Linked DNA regions of Homo sapiens: all the other regions are linked to region 2. Evidence: promoter capture Hi-C in 16 types of primary human blood cells and fetal thymus (Javierre and others, 2016). All regions are on one chromosome and are shown on one strand. The core of a region is centred on a gene start or on the middle of the fragment in contact, and the rest is flanking DNA. Distances in the headings are between cores, read along the strand shown.

What was found. Contacts are between HindIII fragments. The CHiCAGO score rates a contact against its expected background, and 5 or more counts as called.
Region 1: a fragment that was not itself captured here is called in contact with the fragment with the promoter of GUCA2B in region 2 in 3 of 17 cell types (naive CD4 T cells, total CD4 T cells and total CD8 T cells); the score reaches 7.7 in naive CD4 T cells.
Region 3: a contact is called between a fragment that was not itself captured here and the fragment with the promoter of GUCA2B in region 2, in 14 of 17 cell types (total CD8 T cells, total CD4 T cells, neutrophils and 11 more). The highest score is 15.2, in total CD8 T cells.
Region 4: a fragment that was not itself captured here is called in contact with the fragment with the promoter of GUCA2B in region 2 in 4 of 17 cell types (activated CD4 T cells, total CD4 T cells, neutrophils and 1 more); the score reaches 6.0 in activated CD4 T cells.

The regions. Positions count from the first base shown.
Region 1 is chr1:41,587,466-41,590,518 of GRCh38, reverse strand. All of the region lies in intron 3 of HIVEP3 (HIVEP zinc finger 3), which reads left to right. All of the region lies in intron 1 of LOC128125817, which reads left to right. Among named protein-coding and RNA genes, the nearest start is that of EDN2, 100 kb to the right of the region's middle. The HindIII fragment of the contact is 1,040 bases long and covers 1,158-2,197 here.
Region 2 is chr1:42,151,799-42,155,017 of GRCh38, reverse strand. GUCA2B (guanylate cyclase activator 2B) reads right to left here and starts at 1,608. Exons shown (of 3, transcript NM_007102.3): 1 at 1,478-1,608; 2 at 152-338. The coding sequence starts at 1,567. The HindIII fragment of the contact is 11,651 bases long and covers 1-3,219 here.
Region 3 is chr1:41,569,402-41,572,571 of GRCh38, reverse strand. All of the region lies in intron 5 of HIVEP3 (HIVEP zinc finger 3), which reads left to right. Among named protein-coding and RNA genes, the nearest start is that of EDN2, 86 kb to the right of the region's middle. The HindIII fragment of the contact is 4,646 bases long and covers 1-3,170 here.
Region 4 is chr1:41,540,717-41,543,733 of GRCh38, reverse strand. The region is part of intron 5 of HIVEP3 (HIVEP zinc finger 3); the gene reads left to right. It also overlaps the pseudogene LOC100418723. Among named protein-coding and RNA genes, the nearest start is that of EDN2, 58 kb to the right of the region's middle. RefSeq lists a silencer at 2,560-2,774. The HindIII fragment of the contact is 1,749 bases long and covers 379-2,127 here.

The sequences.
Region 1 (3,053 bases), core at 428-2,927, 560 kb after region 2:
CATGTGGTCACAGTTGGCTCACCCCCACCACATCCATGTTCCTTCCTGACAAAATGGAGAGGTGGAGGGCAAGCACTTTTCCTTCTGGCTGTGGCCTAGAAGTTGCATACATCATTGGCCAGAACTAGCTGCAAGAGAGGCTGGGAAAGGCAGCCTCTAGCTGGTGGCCATAGACCCAGCTTGGGGGCCTTTGATTACTACAAGAAAGAGAACTGGCTAATGGAAGAAATATTCAGTCTCTGCCACAATCCCTGTTCCCAGCCAGAGCTCCGCCTTGACCTTGGCCTCTCTCTTTGCCCAGACATCCTTCTGTGACTCTTTGACTACCAATCCCTGTTAGTCTCCAGACCCATATGCTTATATCTGGCTTGTTTTGCCACCACCTGAGCCCACAGCCACTTTTAGTATTTTTTTGCAAGTGAAGAATTCTGCTCCAGCTTAAACACACACATGCATACATGCACACACACAGAGTGTTGTACACAGAGATTTTTAGAAGGGGCACTGGCTTTGTTGCTAGGTCATTAAATAAGAATATTTACTGAGTGCCTCCTCTTCAGCCTGTGGCCTTGTGCCCTGGGTTCCCAGGTATTAAAGTTAATAGGAAAGTTTTCTTATATTTTTGACATCAGTATGTTTTATTACTGCCAGTAAAATTTTTGACCAGATTTTGGCATGTTGGGATATGTGGGGGTGTGTGTGTGTAAGTAAATTACAAGCAAAGAGCTGTATTAAGCCCCACCAGCCTGGGGCCAGCTTAGCCTAACAGCTCCTTGGACATCAGGCCCCTGCCCCTATCTTGCCCCAGCCTTATCTAACTTTGACCGGGGACCCCAGCTCCTCAGTCTAGAGCCCAAGGCAGATTCAAGCTGGCCTCCTGCCAGGACTGGTGGAATTGTCTACCTGAGAGAGCCCATCTCCCACCTGCCCTCTGGAAATGTCCTCTGGGGTGTCCACCCTGGGCCATGGTCATGTTGTCCTGACGCCTTCGATACAGAAGGTGCTTTCCAGTTTGGTTCCAGAGCTTCAGGCCTCCCTGCCTTGGCCCCGGGCTCCTCCATTACTTCCCACTCCCCTGAGGCTTTTGTGGCTCCAACCCCAGCAAGTCCCGATCTCCTTCCTATTGGGCTGCTCCCACAGCTAGACCAAAGGAAGCTTCTTGAAGTGGGAGCTAACCAGTTGGCTGCTGAAGCTCAGGTTCCCCTCAGGGTTATAAGCTGGTCTCTGAGCGAGAGCTCTCACTGGCCTCATGGCCCATTCTGTGACCATCAGTAGAGGCTGTCCATCCTCTTCTGGTCTGGGGTTCAGGCCTCTGTTGGCCCAGCTCCTGGGCCCATTTCTCTGGTGACTTTTACAGGTGCTCTCACCAATTCCCTGGAAAAGTGGCTCTTTTCTTTATCACTTCAAGTTTGTGTTAAAATTTCACACATACCCTCAGAACCACAGAAGGTAGAAAAGAACCATTTTCTTAGTGTCTGTTGGTCACAGTCATTAGAACGGTCCTTCGGTTTATGCCGCACCACATTTGGAATCCATTCCAAGACAGAAGTCTCCTTAGGTCCTGCAGGTTCCCCTACATCTGCACCTGTGGTCCTGGCTGCCCTTCTCCCCCTGCCCCTCCTCTTAAGCACTTCAGACCTGTCATGGTGTGGTAGAGCAGGCTGGCAGAGAGCACTAGTCCAGAAGTCCAAGCCCCAGTGTGGCTTGGGCTAGCCACCCTCCACCATGGCTCAGATGCCTGTTGTGCAGAATGACAGGGTGGCCCCTCCAGCTCACAGGCCTCGCTCACTCTGCGCCCTGGCAGCCAACGGTGCTCCTGTGGCCTTTTTGCTCCCCACTCAGAAGTGTGGGTAGGAGGCCTCTGCTTGGAGAAACACCATGTCCAGCCCACAGGTGCAGGCTGGACACTGACCCTGGGCAGGCAGTGCTGGCCCTGTAGTCATCTGATGATGCAGCAGTCATCTGACTGTCTCCTTCATCTACCCTGCCCCTCCCACCTGGCCCTGGGAATTGCACCAAACCCCAGCTGCTGGGCGCTCCACCACCTGCCAAGGAGAGCCTTGTGGCTCAGTGAGGGGAGAAGGCAGGACTAAGCAATGTAGAGTCCTGCCTGGCCAGCTGACCCCCACTCAGATTGATCATTTCACCACCCAGTCATGCTGCAGGGTCCCATCCATCCATCGGAAGAAGCAAAGCTTACCACTAGCTGGTGTTTTGGGGCTGCTCTCAGATCCTTGCATGAAAGGATCAATAAGAATAGTAAGTATAGCCAACCCTTGATTATCCACACATAGCACCCAAAGGCCTCTCCATCACAGTGCAGCCAGGCTGAGGAGGCCCAGCCCAGCCCAAAGAGCAGTTCTCTCTGTGCTGCAAACCATGTCTACCATGTCTGATTTTTAGAAGGCTCAGCACTTCTGCCCGCCTTAGCTTAGGTAAGCAAGACCTGGGGTAAGGCTGCCAGGACGAGTTCCCCGACCTTTGCTGGGCTCCCCTTTCTTCTGTCCAGCAGCTGCAGTGTGGTTAGGACATAGGTTGAAAGGGCAACTCTATTGTTCAGATGCTAGACAATTCCTTACTCCCTCTTGCCGTGGATACAGCGATGTCCCCTGGGGCCATGCCGGTGCTTCCATAGGACTAGGGGCCATAGACTGCAGTGCGCATCATGCCACAGAAGCCACAGAGAACTTCTATTAATTGAGGTGGGAGACAGTCCTGGCTGGGGGGTCAAGAGGCACAGGATGGTCCAGTCCTGCCACCATTCCCGTGTGATTTTCAGGGAAAATCATATCACCTTTCTAGCCTTCAGTCTCTTCTGTCAAGTGAGAGGAATGGACTAGACAGTCAGTCTCTAAGAATCTATCAGAAGATCACGGTGTAACTTTAGTCTCCATAGAAGAGATCAAAAGTATGTATGAGACACCCAGAGACAGTTGGCACTTATGCCTAGTTTTGGCCGTAAGGCAAATATTAATTGTAAGGGTAACCATTTTGTCCTGGTTTGCCTGGGACTGTCTTTGTTTATTCCTGTTGTTCCTCGATGACTGTTAGTA
Region 2 (3,219 bases), core at 359-2,858:
CGGGGAGTCCTGGGAGCCAGTGGGACAGGGCCTGAGTTACTTGAATCTCCCCATCCTCAGCCGCTGGGTGCTTAAGAGAAACAACCCAGGTGGAGGAGCCTGGGCGTGGGAGGAGACAGAGCGAGGTTCTGCAGGGAGCGGGGGCACTTACTCAGGGTCTTGAAGATGCTGGAAGCCTCCTGCGAGGCGCAGACAGGCTGAAGGTCCTGAGGCAGAGCAGGGTGGTGGCACACGGCGGGCAGGAGGCTCTGGGCCTGCAGGCGGGGGCTGGGTGCCCACTGTGCCTCCAGGTCACTCAGCTTCTTCATGGATTCCAGCTGGACCCGGAAGCCTTGGTACTACAGACAGGGGAGAGGAGATAGGAGCAGGTCAAGACCTGGTCCAGGGGCAGGCACTGCCATGACACCCAGGGTTGCTCAAACCCTGCAGATCCTCCAGAGCCTTCCCCGTCTCTATGGGAAGTCCAGGGCCACACTGGAAAGAGCCGCTGCGGTGAGAGGTGTGAGGAAGAAGCAGCGGGGCTGTGGAGCACAGTGGTTCGAGGCTTTAGAGACAGACAAGCCCTGGTTCAAATCCCACCTCTGCCCATGACCGGCTGCCTGTCTGTTCCCCACTCAGCCTCAGTTCCCTCATCTGACATCTCCCGTGGGGGCCTGGTACCAGGGCACAATCACTAACTGAGTACGCCTGCCTGAGCTCACATGGCAGAGTGATGGCAGCCCCAAGTAGCTGGTCTCTGAGGCCAGGGCTGTTGGGGAGGCCAAGTCTCCTGCACCCCTCTCTGGGACCCACTTTGTTCTTCCCAAGGAGACCATGCCCAGAGTCAGGGATGTGACACCCAGGGCCACAGACGTCTCTGCTATGCTGGGCGAGGCCAGCAGCATCCCCTGTGACGTGGCAGACAGGCCCTGCTGTGACGACTACTGCCACTCTCCCATGCCCCCTGGAAGGGCACTGGAACCCCCATAGTCTTCTATCTGGTCTTTGCACATGCTGTGCCCCTTGGCCTGGAACAGTTTCCCCATCATCTGTGTCTGGCAACCTCCTGTTCATCTTGCAATGCCAGCTCAAGGGTTACTTCTCAGGAAAATTTTTCTGGAGCCTGTCCTCCTCCACCTACATGTGGGTGAATATACGGAACTGTGGGAGCATAACAGGGTGTCTCCTTCCCTTTCTGGCCTCCTCCCATGCAAGGAGGAGCCTTCTGTTCCACACCCTGACCTCTGTGACCAGCACGGGCCTTTGAGGGGAGCAGCGCTGAATCAGTTTGGTGTTGTCATTGCCATCATCACTGCCATCAACATCTGGCTGCCCCCACCCACCAGCTGCCTTGGTCTCTGGGCTGTGATGGGTGTTGGGCTGAGCCCCGGGCCCCGTGCTCCCCCGGTGCCCCTCTGAATTCCCAGTACACCCTCTCCAGCCTAGCCTCCCACCATGGGGCCCTTCAGGCAAAGGGAACGCTGGCCAAGGGACTCACCTGGATGTAGACTGACTGTGTGCTCTGCAGCAGCAGCAGGAGGACCACGGCCACTCCTGGCAGGAGCCCTGATGCAGCCCTGCAGCCCATCGCGCTCCCTGGGTTCCCCCTGCCGCTGTCCACCGTCTCCCATCTGTGTCCCTGCCTAGCACCTCCTTATAGGTCAGGCTCAGGAGTCCTGGTCACTCATTAACTGGCCAGCTGGGGTGGGGTTGACAGCTAGCTGGCTCTCTGACAAGCCGGGGCTGGTTCCTAGGAAGGGGGTTGGGGGCGAGGAGGGCAGGAGCCCAGAGTCTATGGGAACACAGTGCTTGAACACCGAGTGCCTGCCATGTGCCGGGCTCTCCATGGGGGCCTTGGAGCACACCATCATTCACTCCTCAAGACACCTGTGTGGGTGTGATGACGGGGAGGCCATTTTACAGACAGGAAAAGTGAGGCTCAGGAGGGAGGGTGGCTTTCCCCAGGTCACGGAGCTAGTTAATGTCAGAGAAGGGGCTCCAGCCAGGTGTCCTTGGCCCAGGTCAGCCCATGGTCCTTTCTCTGGGGGAAGGATACAGACAGAGAGGCTGGTCCAGGGCAAAGTGGGCAGACACTGCTGATTTCAGGGTTCTCAAGACCCCACTCCCCCAAGACCCACATCTCTCTCACTCCCTCTCCTCAGTGCTATTTAACGACTATCTTTCAGACCAGTCCTGGCCCCACGTTTTGAACCTGCCTCTGCTTGCCATCTCCCACCTGTGCCTGGGTGCTTCAGGCCATGTTTGACCCATCTCACCTGTCTGTGCTTTCAGAAGCCAATAGCCTAATCCAGCATGGAGGAAAAGGCAGTAGTGTTGGAGGCAGATTGACCCGCATTCAAATCCTAGTCCTGCTGCAGCTGTGTGATTTAGGATACGTCACATCAATTCTAATGGAATCTTAGTTTTCTCTTCCATCAAATGGGCATGATACAACCCCTCTCGTAAGGTTGCTGTGAGGGCCCCGGCCCACCTGAGGTTGCCCTTATCTCCTGGGTAATGCATCCATAGCAGCCCCTGAATCTTACAGTTGCCTTCTAGGCAATGCATAACCTACTGCCCCAGTGGTTGAAGGTTGGGTCAGAGAGAAGAGGGCAAAGTCTCTAAGGGTGATATCACCACTGCCATACCAGGCAGCTGTAAACAGTGCGTGTGCCAGGGCTCAGCTCTGCCAGGCACAGACTCTGGCATGTGGCAGGCTCCCCTGACATTGAGCCTGAACGTTGGATTGAAGCCCTGATAGCTCACCTTGGCATTTAAGATGCCACTCCCAAAAGTGGCTAAAATCTGATGTCATCGTGCTTCCCCATACCAACCCTATTTGCACAGGTCTAATCCCATCTCATGTCTTTGCCTACTCATTCCACCTGCCTGAAATGCCATCTTCCTTTTTCTTATCTCAGACTGAAATGAAGAAGAAGCTCAAGTGAACTTTGGAATTTCTTATGTATTGCTTTGAATCCAGACTTCAGCCTTTGCTCTTTAGAGTCTATGGAAATGAAGGGAATCTTACATGCCCTCTAATCTGTAAAATGAAAACAACCATCTGGGAATAATAGCTCTCATTTCTTGAATACTGTGCACAAAGCTATGTTATAGTCGTAATCCCATTGAATCCTAAAGGATAGGCATAATGGTTATTCCCATTTTACAGATGAGTAACCTGAGGCCCAATGAAGCACCATGTTTGTTGTCACTGTGGGAGCAAGAGGGGTAAGCAGA
Region 3 (3,170 bases), core at 630-3,129, 580 kb after region 2:
GGGGACTACACCAAGGTGGCAACACAAGACCCACTGCTAAGGTGGGGATGGCCAGAGCTGAGAAGCTCACAGCAAAGGAAGGATGCCTGGGGGATGGAATAGCTAGAGAGGGCTTCCCGGAGTGGGTGGGGCCGGGCCCAGAGGGTGGGCGAGACCCAGACAAGTGGAGAGGAAGGGTACGCTGCCCAGCAGTCTACCTGCTACAGGTGTGATGGCAGCTCCCATACCTGATCAGTGAGACTCACTTCCTCTTGCCTTGAGCATTCTCCCTTGGTAGTGTCACCCATCTCCTTAGCCCCAGGCCTCATCTCTGTGCCGACATTGCTACATCTGGGTCTCCAGCCAGGACCTCACCCCTGAACTGCAGACACTGGTTTTGATGCCTCCTGAGCATTTTTGCCTGGGAAATTCACACCTCACACTTAGCATGTGCAAACCAAGCCTTCCACTTCCCACCAACAGCATCTCCTTCCACATCCAGATCTCAGATGACACACCCAGCCCTTCACACTCAGAACCTTAACATTGTCTTGGACGCCTTCTCCCCCTTTCCAGTTAGACCCCAATCCTGGTGTCTGCATGAAGTAGTCAGTGACTCAGTGTGGTCTCTTTACTCCCTCTGCCACTGCTCTGGCCACCCTATCTCTAGAACTCCAAAGTTGGTGCCACTGAGCATCACTAAACATGATTCTGCCTGTGTCATGCTTTTCTCCAGAGCCGTCTGTGGCTGCCTCACCTACAGGATCCAGTTTAAACTCAGCCTGTGAGTGCTGGCCTCAGAATCTGACCTGTTCCTGTCGCCCTTCACCTTTTGCTGCCTGCTGGGCCCTGCCATTGCCAAATCCTACCCAGCCTTCAAAAGCCAATACTCAGCCCTGCTCCTCTAACGAGCCTCCCAAATCCCTCCACACTCTGTAGTTCTTTGTGTTACTTCTGTCATAACACTGGTGCTAAGATCCATTTCTGTCTCCTCCCAAGTCCCTTCTTGACTTGGGTCCTGGGGTAATGCTTTGCACACACAATGCATCAGTCTCTGTTTATTGCACTAGTTTCCTGGCACATGGCCCCCTCTGCATTCCCCATCACTTCCACACCTGAACAAAGCCCGCATTTTCCAGGCAGCCCCTGGGAGTGCCCATCAGGGATGTGATGGCTCTCTCACCCAGCACCTGTGCATTTGCCTTGGTTGTTTAGAATGGCTTTTTGTTAAGCAGTGTTGTTTTCACACACACAAAGTTATGTTGTTCCTTGAGAGTAATGACTATATTGTCTTAACTCAAGTTCACTTATTGCAAGGAAAGCTGGGAATTCAGCCCAGTGGGCTTACACGGAAGAGGAAGAGACTGGAATTGATAGGAACCACCTGGCTGACCAAGCCCAGTTGGGTGGTGTGTTATTGGGGCTTATGTCCGAAGGGAATGATAAGTTCAGATGGTGAGATCCCAGGAGTCCATGCCAGACCCTGCGTGCTGCAGGACTCAGCTGCTGCACCTCCTATGGGAGGGCATTGGCTCCCATCCCACCTCACCTACCCCAGTACCTCACTCCAGCCATTGCCACTCTCCTGGGCCAGGAGAGTGCTCCTTAAGCATACCCAGACTTAAGGTTTCCACCTTAAAAATACTTTGGCTGAAGGGCCATATTGCCAGATTTCTCTGTTTCCTTTAAAGAAAAACTCCAGAAGAAGGTGACTGTGTTGCTCACCTCCGTATCTTTCCTCCTGGCTTCTCTCAGACCTATTCAAGGTGGGCCTTTGGGCTCCTCACACCTCAGAAGCTGCTCTTATCCAAGTCAATGATGACCCTCACCTTGCAGAAGTCAGTAGTCAGTTCTCACTTCTATTCTTTCCTGAGCCATCGGCAGCATTTGACACAGTCAATCCTTCGCTCGTCCATGCAGGACTTTGTCCTCTTGGTTTCCTGGACACTGCCTGTATTAGTCTGTTTTCACACTGCTATAAAGAACTGCCCAAGACTGGGTAATTTATAAAGAAAAGAGGTTTAATTGACTCATTCACATGGCTGGGGAGACCTCAGGAAACTTACAATCATGGTGGAAGGTGAAGGGGAAGCAAGGCACCTTCTTCGCAAGGTGGCAGGAAGGAAAAATGCATGCAGGAGGAACTACCAAACGCTTATGAAACCATCAGGTTTCATGAGAACTCATGCACTGTCACCAGAATGGTATAGGGGAAACTGCCCCCATGATTCAATTCCTCCACCTGGTCTCTCCCTTGACACATGGGGATTATAGGGATTACAATTCAAATGAGATTTTGGGTGGGGACACAGACAAACCCTATCACCTTCTTTCTTGATCCTCCTCTTCCTTGACTGGTTACACTTTCTCACCATCTTCAGTGAGTCCCATCATCGCCTGATCTCTGAACATTAGGGCTCCACATGGCCCAGCCCCAGGCTCCGTGCTCTTCCTCTAAACTCAGTCCCAACGTGATCTATACACCATCTACAGGTTGATGACACTCAGATCCCTATCTCCAAGGACTTCTCCTCTGAACTCCGGGTCATGCATCCAACTTCGTATCTGGGAGGCGGTCCACCTGCACATCAGTGAACCCACCCTTTGTCCACAGCACAGCGCATACTGCAGAACTGTGTCTCAGGCCTCTTTGACATTCCTTAAAGAAATTATTTTAAAAGTTTATTTAATTCATTACTGTTCCAGTTGAAGGGGTTACATTTTTAACGAGTGTACTTTTCTATCTCATCTATTTCTATAGCTGAATTAATTTTTATCCAAGTCTTAAGAGTTCATGCAGTGTACGCAGCACGTTTTTGTGACAGTGCATTTGTACATTTTGAAGTGTGTGTGTGTGTGCCTGTGTATGTGCACACATACCTGTGTGTTTCATGAAATAGTAGCTTGGAGAGAATAGTGTTAGTTTTAAAAAATCTAAAGATTATTTTCTTTTCTAATAGTTTTTTTACAAATCCATTTCTTCTTGGACTTTGAAACCCAGAAGTGTAGCATGATTTTCAGCCTAATCATCTGCTGTGCCTAGTCCCATTTTGCTGTGAACTCCAGATTTAGAATTATGTCTTTGGGAATATGTGTTACCTCTGTGTATTTATTGGGGAACAAATTGATTAAACTATGAATTAAATAAGTGGTAATAAGTTGGAGCCTTTTGGATAGGTGTGTAAAAAATA
Region 4 (3,017 bases), core at 4-2,503, 610 kb after region 2:
GTTTCCAGCATCTGGGTTGTGGTCAGGTTCACTGTGCAGCTCTCAAGAGGGTCTAGCCCCAGTCTCAATATGGATACACCAGGAAGGACCTAAATAAGGAGCCCCCAGGTGTTGAGGGGTCTATGCTCACCCCCTGGAGCTATGAGGCCTTGTAGAGTCAGTGAGGTGGCTGGAGACCAGAGAGGGCAAGGGCCTGGGCCTAGGTTACACAGCCAGTTACCCACATGTGACTGGGAAGAGACAAAGTGTTCTCTGCTAACTGGTTACCACCTCCTTTAATCTCTGACAAGTTTTCATAGAAATGGCTTTCCTGAGGGATAGCCGGGCCAGCAGTGACAACTCTCACAGTCTGATCTTTACATACAAGCTCTGGAAGCTTTTCAGAACCACATTTTTCACCCTGCCTACCTCCGTGAAAACCATCTGTCCATCTGTCATGCTAAGAACTGCCCAAACCATTAAGTACTTTGAACTGAAGGGAAGATGAGACAGGATCAGCAGGCAGGAGCAGGAGCTGAATCACGCCAGCTCGTGGCTGTGCCTTGACTCCTCGACCCCACTTTCTGCTGGTGAGGACACTAATTTGGCCCCCACTTTGAGTGGTCAGACATTTAAGGCAGCGGGTAGGTGAGGGGCTACTTACAGATCTATAGTGCGCATGGTCCAGCCTACCATCTCACCAAGGGATTCCTGCTTCATGTTTGTCAAGTGCAGATAAGCAAACCCCTTTATTCTTCATCTTGGAGTTTCTTCTAAACATGTCACCCATTTTGCGCCTCCGTTATCCCGATAGAAACCTAACAGTTAGGTTAACTTTCCTGAGGCTTTTATTGCCCCCTGCGTATTGTTAATCTGGACCATGATCCTGCATCCCACTGATAGCCATTTTAAAAGTGGAAGAGTGGTTCAAGCTCCGTGTCATACGGATCATGTGTCATAGGAGGAACTGAAGCCTGCTCTTCAGCACTGTATTCAGTGTCAAAGTTTGGAAGCTGAAATGCTTCACATTCCATGTTGGCGGCTCTGTCTTCATCCCTGGAATTTGTTCCCTGCCATCATCCCCTTGCACTGCCTCTGCCTCTGCAGGATACTGTGGCTCTGTGACGATGTTTCTGTCTGCATCCTCTCTTTCCTCTACATCCTCGTCACCTTCATCATCTTCCTCTTCCTCATGCTGCTCCTCTTCTACTTCATCGGAATATTGACCTTCCTGGGGACAAGACTCTCATCAGGAGAGATGGGCACAAAGGAATCTTCTCTGTGAGGAGCTTCCTGCGCCTCGGACCCCATCCTGGCATGAGTGTGGTCATTTCCATCATCCTCCAGCGGGGGGGTCCTGGGAAGTTCATGGTCCCCTTGGCTGTGATCTTGGAGAGCTTCCAAGGGCTTCTGTATCCCCATCAGCATGTTATGGATTCCTCCGCAAACCTGGCCATGGCTGGAGAGAAGGAGGAGATGGTAGAGAGACTCCATCGTGACTTCTTACTCCATCAACTGGTCCCAATATTGCCAGGGCTAGACAGTTGAGCCAGCCTCTTAGCACGAAACCATTAGCTTCGCTTTTGAGGTGGGTGAGGGAGACATCTCCAGGCTTCTGAACCTATTGAAATCTGGGGCACTTGGTTTTCCTTCCACTATTGAAGAATGAATCTGACTGTAATGAGTGCTATCAAGGCAGAGTGCCAGATACAGCAAATACTGATTGAGCCCCACTCGGTGCTAGGCACTCTTCCAAGCACATAACCTATATTAACTAAGTAAAATGTGCAACACCTCTTGGAGCATATGCTATTATTTTGTAGTAATTTTCTAATTGAAACAGATCATACATACAAAAAACAATCCAAGTCATAAGTATACAACCATGAGTTATTACAGAGTGAACATACCTATGGAATTGTGCCCAGTTACCCACAGGTCAAGAAATAGGACATTATCCCTATTTTACAGATGAAGAAACTGAGGCACAGAGAGGTTAAGTAACCTGCCCAAGGTCACACAGCTAATAAGGGACAGAGGCTGGTTTCCGCCTCAGGAGTTCTGTCTGGTAAGCCCAGCTCTGTTTTCTACTGCCCATAGAAAAGGTGGACCTGGAGAGCATGACCCATCTCAGGGTCAGGGGAAGCTTCTGAGAAGCTGGGGTTGGATCTGAGCTCAGGGGAGAACTGGAGCTTCATCAGAAAGAGGGAAGGAGAGCATTCCAGGCAGGGTGATCTGCTGAGAGGCCTGCAGATCTGCTGTGGGGATTCAGGAGGGAGGCGATGTGGACAGCCTGTCACGGCCACAACACACAGACTCACCAGTCACTGGAGGGCAGCCATGGGGCTCACAAAGGGATTCTTCCTTCCACAAAAGGACTCACAACAGGCATCCCTAAATAGCTCGCTGCAAGGAAAACCCACTTTGAGTTGGGAAAGTCACATTTCCATAGAGTGGATTAGAGAAATAGGGCTTTCATTGGAAGAGGTGGCTCAGTCTGAGAATAACAGCTGGGAGGTGTAATAGTAAAACCATCCCACAGCCACAGCCATAGCTGGTCTCCTCTGGGCAGCATCAGCACACCCTCCATGGGCGGGTGCTTGCTCAGGATCACACAGCTGGTCGGAGGAGGCAGGATTTGAACTCGGCAGTCTGATGCATCAACACCCCATGCCTAACCACTGCACTCGCAGCGTCCTAATCAGACAGGCCACCTCAGTCCTCTGAGCCGTGACCACACCCTCCCTTCCTTCCTGTTTTCCCACCCACTCACCTACTGGCTGTTTATGTCTGGAGCACCAGTGTGGTTGCAGTGTCCATTTAGAGTCCAGCTAAACCCGCTGGACCTGGAGTCCAGCCCAGCTCCTACCATTAGAATCTATTTTGCCCCAGACTTACATTGTCATTTAATCTGGGCTTGAATACTAGACCTGTTGGGGAGCTCACTACCATTCAGGCTTGCTTTTTTCCAAGTTTGTAGCCCTGGGGTCAGAAAACTCTTTCTTAAAGGGAGCCCGGATCTTCCTCCATGCCTGGTT